Linked DNA regions of Homo sapiens: regions 1 and 3 are each linked to region 2. Evidence: promoter capture Hi-C in 16 types of primary human blood cells and fetal thymus (Javierre and others, 2016). All regions are on one chromosome and are shown on one strand. Each heading gives the region's core, a stretch centred on a gene start or on the middle of the fragment in contact. The rest is flanking DNA. Distances are from core to core; before and after follow the strand shown. Region 1 overlaps ST6GALNAC3 (ST6 N-acetylgalactosaminide alpha-2,6-sialyltransferase 3). Region 2 holds the start of ZZZ3 (zinc finger ZZ-type containing 3). Region 3 overlaps ST6GALNAC3 (ST6 N-acetylgalactosaminide alpha-2,6-sialyltransferase 3).

The links. Contacts are between HindIII fragments. The CHiCAGO score rates a contact against its expected background, and 5 or more counts as called.
Region 1: a fragment that was not itself captured here is called in contact with the fragment with the promoter of ZZZ3 in region 2 in 1 of 17 cell types (total CD4 T cells); the score reaches 5.7 in total CD4 T cells.
Region 3: a fragment that was not itself captured here is called in contact with the fragment with the promoter of ZZZ3 in region 2 in 1 of 17 cell types (non-activated CD4 T cells); the score reaches 5.8 in non-activated CD4 T cells.

Annotation. Positions count from the first base shown.
Region 1 is chr1:76,289,453-76,292,152 of GRCh38, forward strand. The region is part of intron 1 of ST6GALNAC3 (ST6 N-acetylgalactosaminide alpha-2,6-sialyltransferase 3); the gene reads left to right. Among named protein-coding and RNA genes, the nearest start is that of ST6GALNAC3, 220 kb to the left of the region's middle. The HindIII fragment of the contact is 855 bases long and covers 877-1,731 here.
Region 2 is chr1:77,681,330-77,684,029 of GRCh38, forward strand. ZZZ3 (zinc finger ZZ-type containing 3) reads right to left here and starts at 1,329. Exons shown (of 15, transcript NM_015534.6): 1 at 1,256-1,329. RefSeq lists enhancers at 1,385-1,464, 2,282-2,700, 2,485-2,584 and silencers at 1,845-2,264, 2,275-2,334. The HindIII fragment of the contact is 10,120 bases long and covers 1-2,700 here.
Region 3 is chr1:76,264,834-76,267,533 of GRCh38, forward strand. All of the region lies in intron 1 of ST6GALNAC3 (ST6 N-acetylgalactosaminide alpha-2,6-sialyltransferase 3), which reads left to right. Among named protein-coding and RNA genes, the nearest start is that of ST6GALNAC3, 190 kb to the left of the region's middle. The HindIII fragment of the contact is 842 bases long and covers 1,028-1,869 here.

The DNA of each region.
Region 1 (2,700 bases), core at 54-2,553, 1.4 Mb before region 2:
CACATAGTATGGAATAGTTAGCTTACATCATGGGTTCCCAGCAGGGGTGATAGCACCCTCAAGGGGGCAAAAAGTTTAAATTCAGGAATGGTTTCATTAGGAAAACATTTGCTTAGTGAGGCTTCTTGTGGGGCTGAGGGGTAAGAGGGATGAGTGGAGAGGAAAAAAGTGGTCCAGAAACCCCTGGGTTGCACCAACCCCATTAAGTTGGACCTGATGAAGCATTGATAGAAGGAATCCCAAAAGAGGTTTACATGTTGTACTTGGAGGCCCGTAACCAATAGAGGGTTTAATCAACAGGCTTTTTACCTAGGGCCTGATGTAGGCTCCGCCTTAAGGCCATCACATTCACTGCTTGGTTATGTGCACAGGGAGGGAACCAGTGGAAGCCCAACCCCCCTTCCACAGGGTTCTTGAAGCTAGTCATGAAGGGAACAGAGGGAGGAGGGAATGAGTTGCTTTGCCTGCCTTGCCTGAGGTGGAAATGGCTGTGATAGATGTGGTGTGACCTGGGCAGAGTGAATAGTAAAAGTTCACATCTACCCAGGATTTTCTGTTTTTCAGAGTAGTTTCACACTCATTATCTCACAAGCACTCTTTCTCTTTTGAAATAGTTTTTAGTTACACATGTAGTAAAGAAATGCATTCCTTTGTAAGAAATTGAAGTATTACTGATAAAAGTAAAAATGCCCCATGAGCCACATCTGGTTCCAGTTCCCTGCTCCCTCCACAGGATTAACCCCTGTTAGCACTGTGTGTGTCCAGCACTTGTTTCTATTCATTTATGCTCAGGTAAGACTATTTTAAAAAGTACACTATTGCTGTGTAGATCCTTTAACACTAAGGATATCAAACTATATGTAATTTTCTACTTCAAGCTTTTTTTAAAATCATAATATGTCTTGGAGATGGTTCCATAATAAAACATTCAGATCTACCTCACTCCTTTCAATGACTGCATGCCCATGGAATGAATACCTCATTATTTATTTAGCCATCTTACTTTCTGGTAAATACTGATATTGTTTCTGTTTTGATTTTTTTAACCACAGCTACGAATGCCACCTCTTTGGGTATGTGGGTACGTGTCTACAGCTGCTCATTGAGGCAGATATTATCTTTACAGCAAAGGAGACTGAGGCTCAGAGAGGTGACACAGGCAGTGAATAGCATGTCCAGGACCAGAAGCCAGGTCTTTTTTGTTTTAAATCCAGGTTTGATGGATTTTCTTCCCTCATTCCACAGCTACCTCCCACCCTTATCTCATACTGGGACATTTGCATTTGGCAACTGATTTCCTAGCAGTAACATCCCTGGGGTGGCCCTACATGTCGCTGCTCCTTTTCTCACTGTAGATGATGGATCAGCTGCTGTGTGTCCCTGAAGGAAGGCAGCTTTCAGGAGGTGGACAGCTGTGTGTGAATAAAACAGGGGAGGAGGGGATCCACACATACCTGTCCTGACCTATTTACCGAGCGAGCTGTTGAGCCAAAGCAGCACCGTGTTATCTAACCACAGCTAAAATTTGAAAGGTCCAACTGAGAAATGTCAGGAGGAAGTAACACTTGAATTATTAAGGAAGTAGGTACTAAAGGAGATGGAGAAGAATAACCTATGAAACCGGCTTGTTTTGAGCAGGAAAGGAGGAGATGGATGTTCTAAGTGACCGCCATAACTTGAAAATAAAGTGGTTCCTGGGGCCTACTAAATGTTTAAATTTCAGAGAATCCAAGCTTCTTTTTGATGAGCCTTCTTCAGTATTTTACAACGGCATATCGAAAGGGTTTCTTAATTAAAATCCCCAGCACGTTGGAGGGGCGGGCTGATTGAGGCTGCAGTGCCTGCAGGCAGGGTGCCCACCTCCATCAGCCACGCCAGCCGAAGGGGCATCCTGCAGCTCCTCTGTCAGAGGGATTCCTGCCGGAGCACCTCCTGGCAGAGAGCATGAGGCCCGGCCAATTCAATGTGGCCTCGCTGCCCCAGCCCAGCCGGGACACTCCCCAGGACCCAATTAGCAGATTGGAAATCGCATCCAAGTATGTTACAATCACCAAGTTAAAGAGGAATAACAGACATGAAAGAATCAAGTGGGAAAAGAACATTTTGGATCCCGAAAGAGCAGGCTGCTTGTCGGAGTTCTAACGAACCGAAACAAAATAAGTAGTAGCTCCTTAAGCCTCTTTTCTAACACTGCTGGGATTGGTTAGTGTAGAGAAAAGCATTGAAATTGCAAAAGAAAAAAATGCTTATTGTTCCTATGTTCAATTTGTTATTTAATATAACTTGTTTTTTAGGAATTTAATAAAAAAAAAGGGAGGGCATCATTAATTTTACATTCTGCAAGAAAATGAAAAATGATCTGCTGATTAGTGATGTGCAATTTGTTCCTTGAACATCTCCAGTAATGTGTGAATGTCACATTACATAACACTTATAATGATTAAACCAGAAGATGAAATAAGATAGGATAGATCTTGTGTTCTTTCCTTGACTGGTGGACAACTCATCTCATTAATCTCTCTTTGGCTTGCAGCCTTAAATTGAATAAGCCGTGTTACTGGGGGAGATTTATGGCCAAAAGACTTAGCAGCCTCACTGAGGAAATCTTATAGCACCATTTTGAGAGCTCTCCAAGATAATTCTTGGGATTTGTATTAATTGTAGCTTGTCATAAAACATTGCCCAAACCAGAAATGAGCA
Region 2 (2,700 bases), core at 79-2,578:
TTTAAAAAACAAACTATGAATAAATTAACTAGTCACCTGATTCGTTTTGTAATTAACTCCCCACTCCTTATTTAGTACTGCAACTACTAAATAAAATCCAAATACTACTTAAGAATACGAAAAAACAAAGGTATACTGTAAATTCACTTCTGAGACATTAGGGAATTGGAGAGAAATATTAAATTGATTTCAAACTCATTTAAGAAAAATAAAGCTCAAACTCTGATGCCAAAATTTATGAGTTTGCTCTTTACTAAAAAGTTGACCTGAGGCCGGGCGCGGTGGCTCACGCCTGTACAGTGCTGAAATCCCAGCACTTTGAGAGGCCAAGGCAGGTGGATCACTTGAGGTCAGGAGTTTGAGACCAGCCTGGCCAACATGGTGAAACCCCGTCTCTACTAAAAACACAAAAATTAGCCGGGCGTGGTGAAGCGCGACTGTAATCCCAGCTACTCGATACTCGAGAGGCTGAGGCAGGAGAATCGCTTGAACCCGGGAGGCGGAGGTTGCAATGAGCCGAGATCGCCCCACTACACTCCAGCCTAGGCGACAAGAGCGAGACTCCGTCTCAAAAAAAAAAAAAAAAAAATCACATGAAACAGTCTGTTACCTTAAATATATAACCTAAAACAACCATCCCTAAACTTCAAAGATGGCAACCTCAGTAACACAGTAGTAATTAAAACCCTACCGATAACTGAGTTAATAGGCACGTACAAAATGATGAAAAGCAGGATTTTATTCTGACCACAGGTGTTGTCAGAGACATAATGGGCCCTCCAAATACTGCCAAAAGTTACTGAAAATACGAAGTCAGGGTGATGAGTAAATGACACCCAGAGAAAATAGATGGGAGGAGTTCTGTTTCAGGAGACTGGAGTCAGGTACTGCAGCAGAAAACGCGACACAATAGTTAACCGGTCTGGAATACTTTAGAAAATGGCAAGAAGGGAAAAACTGACAAGAACATCTTAAAGTAAGAGGAACGGTATCCAATGGAATCATCAGGTCTGCGCGAGCACGGCTCCCGGACTTCCAGTGAGTGGGACAGGGTGGAACTATCACTGCGTGGGGAGAAGGACCTGGCTGAGGGGTGCATATGCTTTTGCAGGTGGTGGAGCGCCCGCAGGGGGATGGGGAGGGCAGTGTTGCCTCAATGGGGTTACTGTATTCCCTTCAAGACTATGGGAAGCTGATGCAGCACGTATCCCGGCACCAAGAGGCACTCGCCCCGGGCCCCTCCCTAACGACTTGCCTTGTAGAAAGAGTTGCAGGTCCCAGGCCCCCGGAACCCAAGGCTCCGCCATCCAGGACAACTGCTCTGCCAACGAGGTCCCGCGAGAATCGAGAGATCTCGCGATACAAACCCACTCGCATCTCGCGAGCTTCCACTAGACCCAACATGGCGGTACAGAAAAAAATCAGTATTTCGGAACTTAAAAAGCACTTCACTAACGGAGTAGTGAACATTTAAAACACTGAGACAGTAGGAAGTCTTTCCGCTTTATACGTCTCCTCCTTTCCCCTTGTACAGAAAAGCAGAAATCTTAAAAACCTCCGATTACCACGATTATACTACATAAACAGAGCGCAGTGCGCTGCCCCAGGCAGCCTCCCTGTCACGTGGAAACATTTTCGGCGTGCCCGTCACGTGGGCCGCTACTGAGCGAGCGCGCTCCCGACGCCCTCCCAAAAGCCCTCCCCGCCCCCCCTTTCGCCCGCGCACACGTGCGCGCGCACCCCCGCCCCACGTGGGGGCTTCGCCGTCGCAGCCGTCGCAGCCGTCGCAGTCGTCGCCTCCAGCCCACCCCCTCCCGGTACTTGGCTCCAAATCCGGGTCCCAAGCCGATCGTTTCCCACCCCCATTCCCTCCCCCTTCATTCTCCCTCCCCCGTGTCTGGCCCTCACCACGTGTCCCGAGCTCTTGCTCACCTTTCACGCGGGGTCGGACGCAACGGGCCACTTGGGGAGGCGCCGCCGCCGTGGCCGCTCTCCGCCCCCGCCACGGCACTTGCTCGGGTGGCCACCGCTGCAGGAAGCTCGATAGCGGCGCCGCGGCGCTTCCAGGTGGGTCCCCGCCTCCCGCTCCTGCCACTTCCCGCAGCACCAGCGGCTCCTTCCGGTCCCCTCCTTTCTCCTCGTTGGGACTGGCGGGCGGCGGCGGCGGCGGCGACCGCTGCTGCTGCTGTTGCTGCTGCTGCAGGCGCGCTCACTACACCGCCTGCTGGTAACCGCGGCCCGTGCAGCGCCCGCGGGTCGGGCGCCGCCGAGGCCCTCCCCGGCCAGTCCCTGCCCCTGGGCGAAGTTTGGTCTTCCGAGGGCGGGTTGCAGTCCATCCCTTGCAACCGTCCAACCTGGCCCTAGCAGAGGAAAGGCGTCCTCGTAGCTCCGCCATTGGAAATCGGCTTCATCCTGCCCTTTGTGGCCTCCTGAGAGATTTGTAAACCCCACCTCCCTTAGCACTGTGGTCTCAAGCCAGGAGAACATCCATACATGTATTTATGATCGTGCTTCTGCCTCGCCTCGTTCACCTCTGGCTTGTACCACAGCACGCAGGCTCGAACCACTTCGGGCCTTTGTGCTTGCCGATTTCTCTGGCAGAACATTTCCTCCAGATTTTTTTTAACTCCTCGATGTTCGATGCATATTTCAGGTCCCTTCTCAGAGGGCTGCCCAGACCACTGTATCCAAAAAAAGTAC
Region 3 (2,700 bases), core at 199-2,698, 1.4 Mb before region 2:
CTAACAACACCAAACTGATTAGTGATAAAGCCATACTTCAAGATGCTTGACTGTAACTCTAGTGCTCTTTTTTTTTTTTTTTTAACTAGATTATATTAGCTAGAGATTTTTCTTGATAAGACAGTGGTACTTTTAAGGCCTTTATTCCTCTGGATTACAAAAAAGTAAGTTACCTATTCCTGATTATATGAAGCAAGTTAACTGTTTCAGGAACATCAAGAGACCTTTACCACATCACAATAAAACTCAAGGTCATTTTGCTCCAGGAGTACTTATACAGGTGATATTTGACGGTAGTACATATCTTGAAGAGAAAAAAAGTCATTTTGGCTAGGGTAAGCACAGCTAAAGTTTGACACGGCAGCTTCAATGAATCATGCCTCTTTTTATGGCACAATTAAATTTTTTGAGACCAACTGTGATTTTATCAGCTATCCAGGTCATCTGTAGGCAGGTCATGATTGTTACATGGGGTGGTGATAATTGGTACAAGGTCATGCCCTAAGCATGTTATAGACTAGTAGCCCAGCATTGCTAATCATTTTAAATCAAGACTACAAAATTCAACTGTAGCATTTCACTTCAGAGCAAAAACATTGCATTTGCTTGTTCATGTTGCTATTTCCCTTCCCCTCCATGTCTTTCTCTCCCCAATTCTCTCAATTTGATAGGCTGTAAGAAGCTTCGTACCCACCAAATGCAACCATATTTCCCCTCAGCTCTTTATTACAAACATGCACTTTTATCAAAAATTTTTTAAAAGACTGAAAATGAGACTCAGAATCTTTTATTTATCACAGAATGGACCCTGGCTCAGCTGCTTATTGACTGCGTAACCTTGTTTGAATCAGTTTCCGTACTTAGAAAATAAGGAAAGTAATACTTGCCTCATAGAGTAATTGTAAGGATTAAATGAATATATAAAATCTCAAGCTTAGGGTCTAGAACGTAGTATTTTTTCATAAATGTAAGTCTCTGTGTTTCTCAAATAGTTGTGTGCATAGGTATCACCTACATTGCTTGTGAAAGCTTCAGATTCTTGTGCTCATTCCCGCTCCCTAAGGATTTTGGTGCATAGGACTGGTTAGGACCTAGGAATCTGCAGCTGCACAGGTAGATGGTCTGAGGATTATAGTTAGAAGTGCCATGCTGTAGGTTCAAAGCAAATGGGCTGTATAACACATTCTTCATAAATTTCTGGGTTATGGTCAAATTTCCTACGTTTTTCAGAGAAAGAAATTATAGTGTTCAGGGGGCACTTAACTGGAAATAGGTAGCAACAGAAAACTGGATGTTGTTGAATTTATTTATTAATTCACCGTATGTTATTGGGCACCTTCTCTTTGGCAAACTTTCCCATAGCTGCAGGGAACACAGTGATAAACGAGGTAGAGATGGAGGCAGAGCACTAAGTGAGTAACTCCTTTTCCTGGGAGCCCAGGGCTCTATTACCCAGGGTATGCTGTCTTCAGCATAAGGATGACTCTATCAAGTAGGTCTGTAGATACTTCCAAGTCTTTACTGCCGAAACTCTCGCCCTTGCCCTAGAAAGGTGTTGGGTCTCAAAGGGAGTTGTCTCAGAGGAAGGGCAACCTGCAGCCTTTATTTTATTGGGACCAGACCCAGCATCCCTGGCTCAGATTCAGATTTACTGTTCTTATCATCAGATGTGGAATAAAGGCTTCTGGAACAGCAGATGTGGTTTTCTACCTATGAAAGTAACATTCTCTAAAGCCTAGAGGATGGAACTTGATCTCTAGGGATAAAAGAGCAACAGTTGCTCTTAGGATCTTGTCTAACAATTGGCTTAGTAGGTGCTAACTCCAATTCTCATCTACCTGCTCCATCTTGATTTTAGCCACCCATCTAAGCTTCCACTTGCCACCCTTTCTGTGATTATGCCAGCCACCGACTGTGCTCTCTTTGGTCCCTCTTGGGGCAGAGACAATCCAGAATGTTGGGAATTACCTGAACTCTCATCTCATTTGTCTCTCCAGCCATGTGTTAGGCTCTGTGGCCACCCACAATCTCAGGCCCAGCTGTTCTGTAGGACCAGCCCTAAGTGGCCCAGAGAAATATTTTCTTTGGGTTATATCCAGTAAAAGGATATGCGGATATGCTCGGGTCTTGTTGAGAGGCAGCCTGGTAAATGGAGTGAAAACACTAGAAGCAGGCAATGCCAATGTGAAGTCCCTCTGCTCCAGCCAGCTTCCCAACCTTGGCCAAGTGCCCACTTTCTCAGGAGTATCCCACCTCCCTTCCAGACCAGAAATGCCGTAGGGCTTGACAGCCAATTTGCGCTCTCTTTCCTACATCCTGACCTCTTTGACTCAGGTCCCGGAACTTTTGATCCGCAATTATGAATCTCAATATACAACCCCTTGATCATGACCCCTTGCCTCATGGAACTCTCTGTCTCCTCTGTCTAGCCCCTGCTAAGCTTCGTGGACTTTGTCACTAATCTACTTCACCTATGGTCTTGCTAAGTTGCTTCCTCTGTCACCTCCCTTCCCAGCCCACTCGAGCTCTGTCCTGCCACTGTCCAAAGTCAAAAGAGGCAGAACTACCTTCCTTACTTTATTTTCTTTCTCCTCTACTTTGCTCTTTCTTTCTCTTTACCAGAACAGAGCATCTGCAACCACTCTCACTGCATTTTTTTACCACGTTTTCTTCAGAGTCTATCTGAAAATGAAATACAGA